Linked DNA regions of Homo sapiens: all the other regions are linked to region 1. The links are contacts of gene promoters, found by promoter capture Hi-C in blood cells and fetal thymus (Javierre and others, 2016). All regions are on one chromosome and are shown on one strand. The core of a region is centred on a gene start or on the middle of the fragment in contact, and the rest is flanking DNA. Distances in the headings are between cores, read along the strand shown.

Evidence for each region. Contacts are between HindIII fragments. The CHiCAGO score rates a contact against its expected background, and 5 or more counts as called.
Region 2: a contact is called between a fragment that was not itself captured here and the fragment with the promoter of TNFSF10 in region 1, in 2 of 17 cell types (non-activated CD4 T cells and activated CD4 T cells). The highest score is 7.8, in non-activated CD4 T cells.
Region 3: a contact is called between a fragment that was not itself captured here and the fragment with the promoter of TNFSF10 in region 1, in 2 of 17 cell types (activated CD4 T cells and non-activated CD4 T cells). The highest score is 5.8, in activated CD4 T cells.
Region 4: a contact is called between a fragment that was not itself captured here and the fragment with the promoter of TNFSF10 in region 1, in 1 of 17 cell types (activated CD4 T cells). The highest score is 5.6, in activated CD4 T cells.

The regions. Positions count from the first base shown.
Region 1 is chr3:172,522,047-172,524,987 of GRCh38, reverse strand. TNFSF10 (TNF superfamily member 10) reads left to right here and starts at 1,558. Exons shown (of 5, transcript NM_003810.4): 1 at 1,558-1,735. The coding sequence starts at 1,604. It also overlaps the pseudogene TBPL1P1. RefSeq lists an enhancer at 1,577-1,626. The HindIII fragment of the contact is 8,260 bases long and covers 1-2,053 here.
Region 2 is chr3:171,250,363-171,253,303 of GRCh38, reverse strand. All of the region lies in intron 2 of TNIK (TRAF2 and NCK interacting kinase), which reads left to right. Among named protein-coding and RNA genes, the nearest start is that of MIR569, 150 kb to the right of the region's middle. RefSeq lists an enhancer at 2,126-2,205. The HindIII fragment of the contact is 3,293 bases long and covers 1-2,941 here.
Region 3 is chr3:171,269,015-171,271,955 of GRCh38, reverse strand. The region is part of intron 2 of TNIK (TRAF2 and NCK interacting kinase); the gene reads left to right. Among named protein-coding and RNA genes, the nearest start is that of MIR569, 160 kb to the right of the region's middle. The HindIII fragment of the contact is 1,173 bases long and covers 830-2,002 here.
Region 4 is chr3:171,496,495-171,499,435 of GRCh38, reverse strand. No RefSeq gene overlaps it. Among named protein-coding and RNA genes, the nearest start is that of TNIK, 38 kb to the right of the region's middle. The HindIII fragment of the contact is 2,630 bases long and covers 67-2,696 here.

The sequences.
Region 1 (2,941 bases), core at 309-2,808:
TATTTTCTTAAATATAGACTCATTTACAGATAGAAGGCAAGGGCAGGAAGTGATGGTGACCAGCGGTGCCTGAATGAACTCAGGAATGTAACTGTAGATCTAGGGTCCCAAACTTTAGGTTTCAAAGGATCTCTTGGAGTACTTGCTGAAAAATGTAGGTTCCTAAGTCCACTGCCAGAAACTCTGACTCAGTGGGTCAAGAATGGAATAACTAAACAATGGCCCCATGCAGTGGTTCATGCCTGTAATCCCAGCACGTTGGGAGGTTGAAGCAAGAGGATCACTTGAGGTCAGGAGTTCGAGACCAGCCTGGCCTACATGGTAAAACCCCATCTCTACTAAAAATACAAAAAAATTAGCTGGGCATGGTGGCATGCACCTGTAATCCCAGCTACTTGGGAGGCTGAGGCAGGAGAATTGCTTGAATCTGGGAGGTGGAGGTTGTAGTGGGCCGAGATTGTGCCATTGCACCACTGCACTCCAGCCTGGGCGATAAAGTGAGATTCTGTCAAAAAAATAAATAAATACATGAAAGAGAGAAAGAAAGAAAGAAAGAAAGAAAGAAAGAAAGAAAGAAAGAAAGAAAGAAAGAAGGAAAGAAGGAAAGAATAGAAAAGAAAAGAAAGAAAGAAAGAAAGGAAGAAAAGGAAAGAAAGAAATGCTGAATAAGATATAGAGACAACATACAGCTGGGCCAGCTTATGACATCTGATAGTGGGGAGATTTGGGGCTGGGTCCTGAATCTGAGGGTAATTAACTCCCTGTAACTTCTTTTCCTAATCTGTAAAAGGATAGTGACAGCGAGACATTGTGATGGGGTTAATATTTTGGAAAACATCCACATGTTTTTTTCCTTTGCCTTTCTGAGTGTGTCAACTACTTCCTACCTGTCCAGCCTAACACACAGGCATGTTGTCTTGGTAGGGATGGAGATCTGAGAAGGAGATTAGAATTTGTGTCTGAAGGTTTGCAAAGAGGAAGAAGTCGTCAATATTTAGATTCTGACATTCAAGATGGAATTATGTAGCAAGACCATTGCTATGAGACAGTATTTCTATTTTCCTTTATCCACTCCCACCCTGCCCTCTTCCCACCCTCACAGTAGCATGAGAAAAACCACATATGGAAGTTTCAGGTCATAAAAATTATCTTATAATTTAGAAAACAGGCCTTGTGCCTATGACAGCCAGGCCATGAGGCTTAGAGCTCTGTGGTAGAATGAGGATATGTTAGGGAAAAGCAAAGAAAATCCCTCCCCTCTTTGGCTGAGGACATTATCAAAAGGAGAGCAAGAAAGAGAAGAGAGAAATGGGCTTGAGGTGAGTGCAGATAAGGGGTGCATGGATCCTGAGGGCAAGGAGAGGAGCTTCTTTCAGTTTCCCTCCTTTCCAACGACTACTTTGAGACAAGAGCTGTCCCTGGGCAGTAGGAAAGGGGAGGGACAGTTGCAGGTTCAATAGATGTGGGTGGGGCCAAGGCCACAGAACCCAGAAAAACAACTCATTCGCTTTCATTTCCTCACTGACTATAAAAGAATAGAGAAGGAAGGGCTTCAGTGACCGGCTGCCTGGCTGACTTACAGCAGTCAGACTCTGACAGGATCATGGCTATGATGGAGGTCCAGGGGGGACCCAGCCTGGGACAGACCTGCGTGCTGATCGTGATCTTCACAGTGCTCCTGCAGTCTCTCTGTGTGGCTGTAACTTACGTGTACTTTACCAACGAGCTGAAGCAGGTCAGTGCAGTGCAGTGCACTCAGTCTTCGAGGCGCTTAGCAAATGTCTGGTTACCTGCTTCTTTGCATGTCAGCTTGCCCCTCTCTGAAGACTTTCCTGCTTCCTTTCTCTGTGGGTACACTCTAACTGCTAAATCACATAACAACTGAGGTCTTTGCAAAACTGTAAGTTCAAGAAATTGTGTAAACTAAGTGCAGTTACACAACTGGCTTCACTAGTTACTAGCAGATGTGGGCAACAAAACTCCTGAGGGATTTTTTGTTTTTAAAAGTATGTGTATTTTATAATATCAGCCATTGCAACTCTTCATGAAAGCTTTCTGCTAAATGCTTTGTAGTTCTTTTGTTTTCCTTTTCCAAACTTTTATTTGTGCACATTCAATTGAAAAAGATAATTTTTACAGGTTCTTTGGTGCCCATTTTCAGCATACAAAAATGTAAAAGACTATTCACAGATAAAACACATTAGCTCAAAATGGAAAAAAATAACAATGACAACAATAAAACAACCTAAGGTAGTGCACACTGTGACAGCTCTGCTTATGGGGACATGAGAATTCCTGCGAAAATAAATAGAATGTCCTTTTGTAAAAGCAGCAATGACATGTCTTGTAAACTTCCTTTTTTATATTATAACAAGGTTTGGAATAAAATCCAAAGGGACTGGAGCTTACACTGTAGCCATGAATAAATAAAAGAGTCTATTTCCTCAATTACCGTTGGTTCAGTTTTCCTTTTGAGTCCAATGTGCAGCAGGTTTTAAAAGGTGCACAGTAAGAGATTCTAACCAATTAAGTGGTGAATGATAAAATTTCTTTCCTGCTTTCAAACACAAATGGGTAAATCTGTTCCACAGCAGTAGCAACAGCCTTTAAATAGGGCCTTGTTACTGTGATACTTCCTGTCGAAAAAATCTGTAATGTAGCTCTTAGAGTCTTTATCCAATAGCACACAGCAGGATGAAGTTCAGATTCATAACTCACATGAGGTCTATTGCTCTTTGTGAATTCTGGCAAACAGATTTCTTTATTTTTAAATTTTTTTATTTTACTTTAAGTTCTGGGATACGTGTACAGAACGTGCAGGTTTGTTACATAGGTATACATGTGCCATGGTGGTTTGCTGCACCCATCAACCCATCATCTAGGTTGTAAGCCCCACAGGCATTAGGATTTGTTCTAATGCTCTCCCTCCCCTAGCCTCCCA
Region 2 (2,941 bases), core at 194-2,693, 1.3 Mb after region 1:
GTTATTTCTTTTTTTTTTTTTTGAGACAGTCTTGCTTTGTTGCCCAGGCTGGAGTGCAGTGGTGTGATCTCGGCTCACTGCAAGTTCCGCCTCCTGGGTTCACGCCATTCTCCTGCCTCAACCTCCCAAGCAGCTGGGACTATAGGCACCTGCCACCACGCCCGGCTAATTTTTTTTTTTTTGGTACCTTTAGTAAAGACGAGGTTTCACCGTGTTGGCCAGGATGGTCTCGAACTCCTGACCTCGTGATCCACTCGCCTCGGCCTCCCAAAGGGCTGGAATTACAGGCACGAGCCACTGTGCCCGGCCCTAGTTATTTCTTAAAGTTGACTAAGAGTGGTTTCCTTCGGCCCCAAAAAACTATGCATTCTAAAACATGAAATGCTTCTCTACACCCCTACTCCATTTAAATTTTCTGAAGTGCCCATTTTTCCTGTCTTACATGGTGAAATCCTAGCTGTTTATTTTTATGTTCTTCAAGATTTAGATGGTGTCACCAGGAACCGAGTGCTCTCCCCATTCCACTACCCCATGATTTTCTTACAAAACCCAGATTAAGTTTCTCCCAGATAAACAGATAAAACTAACCTAGCTGATTTCTTATATCAAAGTTAACATTGTGAATGTCAAAGAACCAATGCTATGCAATGATGTAAAATATCGCTCTAATTTAATTCCCACTGGTAGGCCACATGTTTGCTTCAGTATTTTACCTTCTAAGCTGGGAGAACAATGCAGAGATAGCACAGCTATATTTTAATATGCATGTTACCCACCTTGAATTAACATAAGGCAGCTTCCTAATGCTATAAAATGGAAATTTATGACACTTTCAGATATAATGTCGTGCACACGATATGAGTTTTTGGGGTGGTTTTGTTTATTCCTCTCTTCTCCTCCCCTCATTTTTAATTACATCTGCCTATATAAGTGCACAGTTAATTTTCATCGGCTGCCCATATAGCTTGAGTTTTCTACTTCTTGTGTTCGGAACACTTATCTATAGTTAAGTTTTGAGGCTTAAAAGTCAGTCATTTATTTAGCACCTACTGTATGCCCAACAGGTTGTAACTAACTGGTGAACATAGGTAAAATGGAGGCATTTTCTCACCCACAAACTGCTTGCAATGAAGATGTATTTATAGGGGAGGGGAAACAATGGCTGAAGGTAACATAGGAGATTGTTTTGGCTGTTAAGTAAAGAGATATGACACACACACACGCACACACACACACACACGCATACCAGATTTTATCTATGCAAATGAACATTTACCTTAGAGAATTGCACGTATTTCCTTCAAAAATGTTGCAATTGCCCTATAAATTTGGGAGCTACTTTCTTTTGGTGATGAAATACACAAACCACAAAATTTCTTTTTGGTCTGTTATCATATTTACTTTCTAACAGTTTTATCCAACTCAATCTTTCACCTTCCTTACCCGTTTAGAATGATATTAAATGTAAAAAATTAAATATACTTTTTAACAAAGATGAGCCATATTATTTTTCTATATTCAAAGGGATGTGATGTAGGTAATTTCAGAATGATTTAAACATCAATGGTATTAGTGCCTAGAGACAACATTCATTTTGAGTACAAGTTTTGCTAGTTTTGCTAAATAAAATTGGGTACATTATTTATATTAAGTATCAAATAGTGTATGTGTGGAATACAGGTTCTTGATAATTAGGCCCCAACTAAGTGCACATAGTCTGTGGGTCTAAGTTAGATGAAAAATGTCCTAATAAGGAGCACCTTGCAATGGCCCTTGCTCTGTGCTTCAGCCCCAGCCAACTTGCCCAGGACAGAGGAACTCATCCCAAGACTGTGGCAGGAAGGTTGATAACTATTATGGCAGTACCTGTTTCTTACTTCTGGGCCTAGCTATCAGTTCATATCATCCAAGATCATTACCCAAACATGTAGACATCATCTCAGGCCTCTAACAACACAAGTAGCCAGCCTCATTTTAGAACACACCAGAGGACTCTTGACATTCTAAATTGTCATCTTTTAATGGACTCATCCCTTCTTCCTTCTTTAGGAAGTTCTCATATCTGTGTCCCGGTCTCTGTTGTCTGTTCCTGCTGTTCTCTGCTGTCTGTATCTGCTGTTCTTCCCAGACCACAGGCAGGTTCCAACATGTGCTTTAATTTAGTCTCATCTCTCATAGGATGTTGCCCACCTTTAACCTGTCTGGTAGTTGATGTGTGTACATGATACCTTTTGTTGGGTTATTCTGGTTTTCCTTCTGCTGTTTAGATGAGAGCTTCAGTCATTCTTTGGTCACTCAAACACTTTCAGACATAATAACACACTAGGCTTGTGACCATTTGGTATTTGGGGTCTTTGAATAATGTACACTGTATTTTGACAGTGGTCTGGGACACCATCAATTGATAATTGTTGCAGCAGAGGATTGCAAGATAAAAACAAATCTCTGTCATGAAAGTCAGAAATCCCAAATGTAGAATAATAATGGAAGTTTGTAGCATTTTTAGAGCACTATATGGTTTACAAAACTTTCACATTAGCTATTTTAGTTCTTATAACGGCCTTAAGTATCATTTCTCTGATTTTAGTGTGGAAACTGAGATCTAAAGAGATCTGAATGATTTCCTCATGGTCACACAGCCAGTGAGTGACAGAACTGAAGGTATCTGACCACAGGGCCTGTGTTGTTCCCACCTCCCACAGCTGAAGGAGTTGGAGTTCCTACTTTTCTCTGAGCTAGCTGCATGGCTTTAGAGAAGTAGGATGGAAGGGGTTAATATCAGTGGACATGAATGTCTCTAATATTCTTCATTTCTAATTTTTTAAGTCTATCAGGTTTGGACACGAAATTTTTAAAGGGCATGATTTAGATTTCTAGGAATCCCTGTTTCTGAATATTTTGGGGGACTAGGGCTTAGGTTACATCTTGGAATTTTTAAGGT
Region 3 (2,941 bases), core at 167-2,666, 1.3 Mb after region 1:
GAAAGCACATAAAGCAGACTTTAATTCTTTAAGGGGTTCAGGCAAGAATCTAATGCTCAAAGGTAATTCTGAGAATTAAACATAATTGGAACTTAGTTATTTAAATCTAATTTTTTTTGTAAACAGATGTGAGTCCTAGCATCTTACATGTCAATTAATTTTTTCTTTTAAATTCGGGTTTGAAAGTTATATATAATAGGTTGTAGCACACTGTTCTAGGCACATTTCTGGATTTAGACATGATTAAGACATGGTCCCTTTCCTTTAAGAACTTAATACATATAAATAACAAAAGTCAAAACAGTCATAAATATTTTAATAAAATAGCTTTCCCATAAAAAGTGCTCTGGGAACACATGAGAGGTAGAGATTAATTTTGAGAAGTGTTTTTATGGAGGAAATGGCATTTGGTTTTAATCTTGAAGAACAAGTAAGATTTGAACAGATGGACATAAGTGTTTCCAGGGTGAAGGCCCATCTTTAGCATAGGCTTGGAGACAGGACACACAAGGTGAGTTAGAGGGTGTGTATTGGATAGGTCATGGAAATGATGTTTGAAAGTTGTCTGGATCTTCTTGTAAATGAGTCTCGGTACCAGGCAGGGGAGCTTGAACTTGATGTTTATGATCTTGGAGTGAAGCCAATAATTACTATTTTCTTTTTAAAAAGTATCTGGCTCTTAGAAAATTCTAAGAATAATGCAGAAGTGCAAGTAAATGCTAGAACTATTAGAGTTGGCAACACAGGTAGGAAACGTGCGCAATTAGAAAAGAATTGTTGCAGAACTTGAAGACTGAGGTTTCAAACCCTGGCACAGTAAGAATAAGCTTGTCCTTAGGGTAAGCCAGAACCCAATCTCTCCCTCTCAGATGTAGTGAGTCTCTACCATGTATCAGGCAGTGTACTCAGAGGATGCAGAGTGAGTGAGAAATATCCCTGAATTCAGCTTAGCAGTAGAGCCAGAAAGGTAAACAAATGAGTGTTGTATTAAATGCACTTGCAAAGTACCATTGTGAAATGAAATAACAGGAACAATAATGACTATCATTTAAAATCCACTTGTTATGTGCCAGACTCTGTTGTAATCACTTTACATCTGTTAACTCATTTAACCTCTATGAAGCAGGAACCTTTATTATCCCCATTATGTAGATTAAAAAACTGAGGCACTGAGTGTGAAGTAACTTTCCCAAAATCATCCAACTAGACAGTGGTATAGAGGTAGGATTCAACCCCTATTTTTTGTGGCTAACAACTATACCTGTCAGGAAACAGCTGGGGCAGTAGGCAGGGGTGAGAGAGGAGTGAGAAAAGATGGGGATGGGTATTTCAGGAAATGAAATTAACACATGTAAAGGCATAAGGAGAATTTGAGAAAGATAGTTGGCGATTAGAGACGAATTTTACTTTGGGTCTGATTTCAATTGCTGGTGTGATATTTAGGTGGGAATGCCTCACTAACGATGTGGGTATTTTTGGAGAAGTCACCAGGCATTTTCTCTCTGGCCTCTTTCCTCTCCATGTTAACAGTCGCTCTATAGTGGTGCTCCACATACATTCCATCTCTGTATGAACAGGGAAGTAGCTGTCAGTGAGGAAGATGTAGTACTGTCTTCTAGCCTTTTCCTAAGTGGTCCAATTGCTCATTAAGAATCCACTCCAACTTAGTAACCAAACAGTATTGTAAATATTGATACTACGGGGGTATTCTCATGACCCAGTTGCCCCCAGCCCTTAAGGAACTTAAAATTTAGTGAGTGACCTACCCAACTGTGGCAGTATCTGAGTAGCTCCTTCTAAACTTAGAAAGATGGGGTTAACTAAGGATAAATAATTATCTTCACAGTTTCCAAGCAGAAATTGAACTGCTCAAAGTAAGTGTGTAAATGTGGGTGTATATGCATGTGTGAATATGTGTGTGGGTGTGTGAGTTTATTTTCTATTGAGATGGAGGAATCATAGGTAAGTATGACTGATCTCATAGATGAAGAAGTAAAAAGCTTCCTAGTTATTCAGTGTACTTAAACTTCTCTGAAACTTATTTTAGGTTAATGAAGGAAAATATTTGAGGTTCTTGCCTTAGAAGAATTGCCTTAGTAGTCCCTCCCCTAAAATGTTTTTATTCTGACCTTGATGCAAGAGTCAGTAAAGACCATTTCAGCAGTGATTGTCACATATCACCTTCCCTCTAAACATGAAGCAAAGTGAAACTATAATCTCTCCAGCATAGGCTGTTTCAGTGGTCTTTCATGTAGGAAGCTCTGAAGTAACACCAGCCCCAGCTGTGCTTTTTGGGATAACTATTTCATAATAAGAAAGAAATCATATTTTGAGACAACAGCAACAAAAAGCTGATATTGTGTCTGTGGTTCTGTTTTGAGTGCCACCACTGAATTAAAGCTATCCAAGGAAATGAAACATCGAGGTTGGGGGAACATTGTGTGATGTATGTTGGCTGAAATACTAAACACTCCAGTATAACATCAATATATAATTTGTATGGTTACAAATATTATTGGCATAAATAATTCATGCTGCTGCTTTGTATTTACTTGATTAACAGCGTCTTTGTCATTTTTGTCAGTCATGATGCCATTGCAATCTTGCACATTGTGTTTAAAGAATACTCGGGGAAATGTTTCAACTGTGTGTCTGGATGGTATAATGTATTTATTCATTTAGTCAGATGAAATGAAAGAGAGAGTGTTTAATATGCATGCCTGCATTATACTAGCTACTCTCTAAATAAATTACAGACAGTATTACTCCCTTTCATTGTAAGAAAAATTATAGTTTGATTTTTTTCAAGTAGCCAACATGCTGCCATTTTGTACTTTTAATTACAAATTTTTGAGGTTTTTCAAATGAGCTTTGAATAATCCTGAATATTTTTGTATTGAGATGTCAATAGGAAAACTTTGGTAACTTGAGTGGGCTATAT
Region 4 (2,941 bases), core at 132-2,631, 1.0 Mb after region 1:
AAATAAGGTTCTACATGTGATTTTGGAGAGATTACAACTGGAGGAGAATAAGATCTTGAGCAAGCTTGATCCCTTCCTCTGTACACCAAAATGCTGCTTTGTATTTTGGTAGTTTACTCCTCAAGAGAGAAGATGTGGGCAGGAGAAGGTTAATTGAGTAAGCAAAACCATGACTTCCAATAGAGAATGTTCAAAAAAAAAAAAAAAAAAAGCACCAGGATGTGTTAGCCCAATAAATAATTCATTGGACTGCCTATTCACAGACTAATAGAAAAATATTACAGAATACCTACATGTCAATCAGTTAGTTAAATAAACTAACTGCAGTTAGTTAAATAAACACTCTATGTAGATGTCACCTGTAAAACCCAGATTTATACATTCATCGTATGTTTTACCCAGGCAAAAACATAATATCTAGTAACTTGACTTCAAAAACTATTAACATCTCATGCCCTTGAAAAGGTTACCTGACATCTTGTAGGCCAGATCCAGGGTTGAATAGACATGTCCCCTGCCACTGAGCTTACAATAGCCAAACATTCAAATGACACTTTAGTTACTTTTGCTGCCCTTACAGAGAAACATTGAGAGTTGTGATCCTTCCGGGCCTGCTGGAATTCTCCTGACTTCAGGGGGCACAGCTGCAGCAGTGAATGCAAAGGCAAAATGTGGATTTGCAAATGCCCCAACTCCAGCTCAGTCAGAAACTCCCATTTTTACTCAAATAATTTCCTAATTATTTGATATACTTAAAAAAAGATGAAAATGATAAGCCCTGCTATCCCAGGAATTGTGCTTTATATGGCCTTTTTTCTACTCAATCTTCACAACAACTTTGTGAGGCAGGTATTATTATTATGACTCTACTTTTAGATAAAACATCTAGAATATGATAAAACTGAGAGCAACAAAAAGCATCATGAGTAATATGACAAATTGACACCACACAGTGCCTGATAAGAGGCAAAATAAGGAATCAAATCACTTCTGTGATATTTTTAGTAAAAGTGTATAAACTGAACTCAATCACCACCAGACCAACCCGAATTGAGGGACGTTCTAAAAAATACCTTGGCAATACTCCAAATGCATCAAGGGCATGAAAGACAAAGACAGACTGAGAATCTGTTGCAAATCAAGGAAGACAAACAAAACAAGACAAACTAAATGCAACACGTAAATTTGGGCTGGATCTTGGAGCAGAAAAAAAAGTAGATTAGTGAGACTATTGGTGAACTTGAGGACTGTAGGTCAGAAAATAGTATTTTATCAATGTTAACTTCCTGATTTTGATCATTTCACTGTGGCATGAAAAATGTTAACATTTGGGGAAACTATAAGAAGGGTAATCAGAAATTTTTTCTTACTTTCTGTGTAAGTAAAAAATTATTTCAAAATTAAAAGTTGAAAAGTGGGGAAGAAAAGAAAGTAAAAGAAATAAACACTAAATGCAGCATCCCAGTAGGGAATCTGGAGAGACAGAGAAGGTGGTACCGTATTTGGGGTGGGAATGAATCTCTTCTGACAGCTGGAAACCATTTGGGGTTTGTCCTTGGAGTGGTTTATCCAGAAGATCAATTTCTGAAGTGTAAAATTCTTGTGACTGACAGGCTGTTGGAGTTGGAAGAGAATGCAGAGGTACTCTGAGGGCTCTCATCTTGCAGAAATGACATCTGAAGCTCAGAAAGGCATGAGGATGATGGGCCCAAGGTCATACAGCTAAAGAGCCAAGATAAGAACCTAGCTTTTCTGGGTCATGGGATACTATTTCTATGCCACCATTCATTTCTGAAAGTGGACACCTCCCGGCTCAAGCCCATAATCCATGGTGTAGGGGCTTTATCCATTAGGCATGTGATTCTACCCACCTGCTAGAGATTTTCTTCTGGAGCCAGATAGTCATTCACTTATTCACTCATTCAACAAATATTTATTGAGTGCCTCCCAATGCCAGGCATTACTTGAATGGTAAATGATACAGCAACTATCAAAAACAAAGTTCTCAAATTCTAGTGGACAGACCGAAGTACTGATCCAGTGTCCACCCTTAGTGACCTGCATGACCTTGGGCACATTCCTTTACCTCTCTAAGCCTCAGTTTGCTCTTCTGTAACACAGAGAAGATGGAATTACTCAAGGATTATTCTGAACATTAAGTAAGATATTGCATCTAACCTTTTAGCAGAATTGTCTGGTGTGTAAGTACTCAGTAAATATTAAGTATTACTGTTAATGTGTTTTTCTCTCCAACCGGGAGCTCTGTCAGTTACACTAGCTTGAGGAGATATCTGGGTGCACTCAGAAATTCTATACTATATTTCTAAACGCATTGAAAACTCACATTTAAGAAGGTGAGTTTTTCCAACAGAGTAATTTTCCATTTCCCACTCCATTTCTTTGTTATTTTCAAAGGTAGATAAACAATAAAAAGAAAGGGCAAGAAAGGCCAACTGAGAAAATTGGTGCTGAGCGAGGAATTCAAATGGGAATTACAATATGTGGAATATCTGATAGGTTTTATCTAGATTTAAATGAGACTGCTCTTGGAGGCTGGTTGCATCTAGCCTCTTCATGGGCATAATTTGAATGACACTTTAGCCACCCCATGATTATTTCTACAAATGGAAGGAATACTAGATTATCTGACATAAAACAAGATAAGCAGAACTTGCTAGTACTGCTTGGAGCAAGCTTCTGGTGCCTTCCTTACTGCTATATCCTAAGAATATGACCATTAATTCCTCTCTGCCATGTTGCTTGTTGCCTGTCTCCCTAGGGTCAGGTCTTTCCAGATATCTACTTTCTTCCCTTCCCTTCACCACCCCCAGCACCAGCAAAAGGCCTTAAACATAGAAAGTGTTAAAGAAATGTATGTTGGCTGAGCATCGTGGCTCACACTCGTAATCCCAGCACTTTGGGAGGCCTAGGTGGATGGATC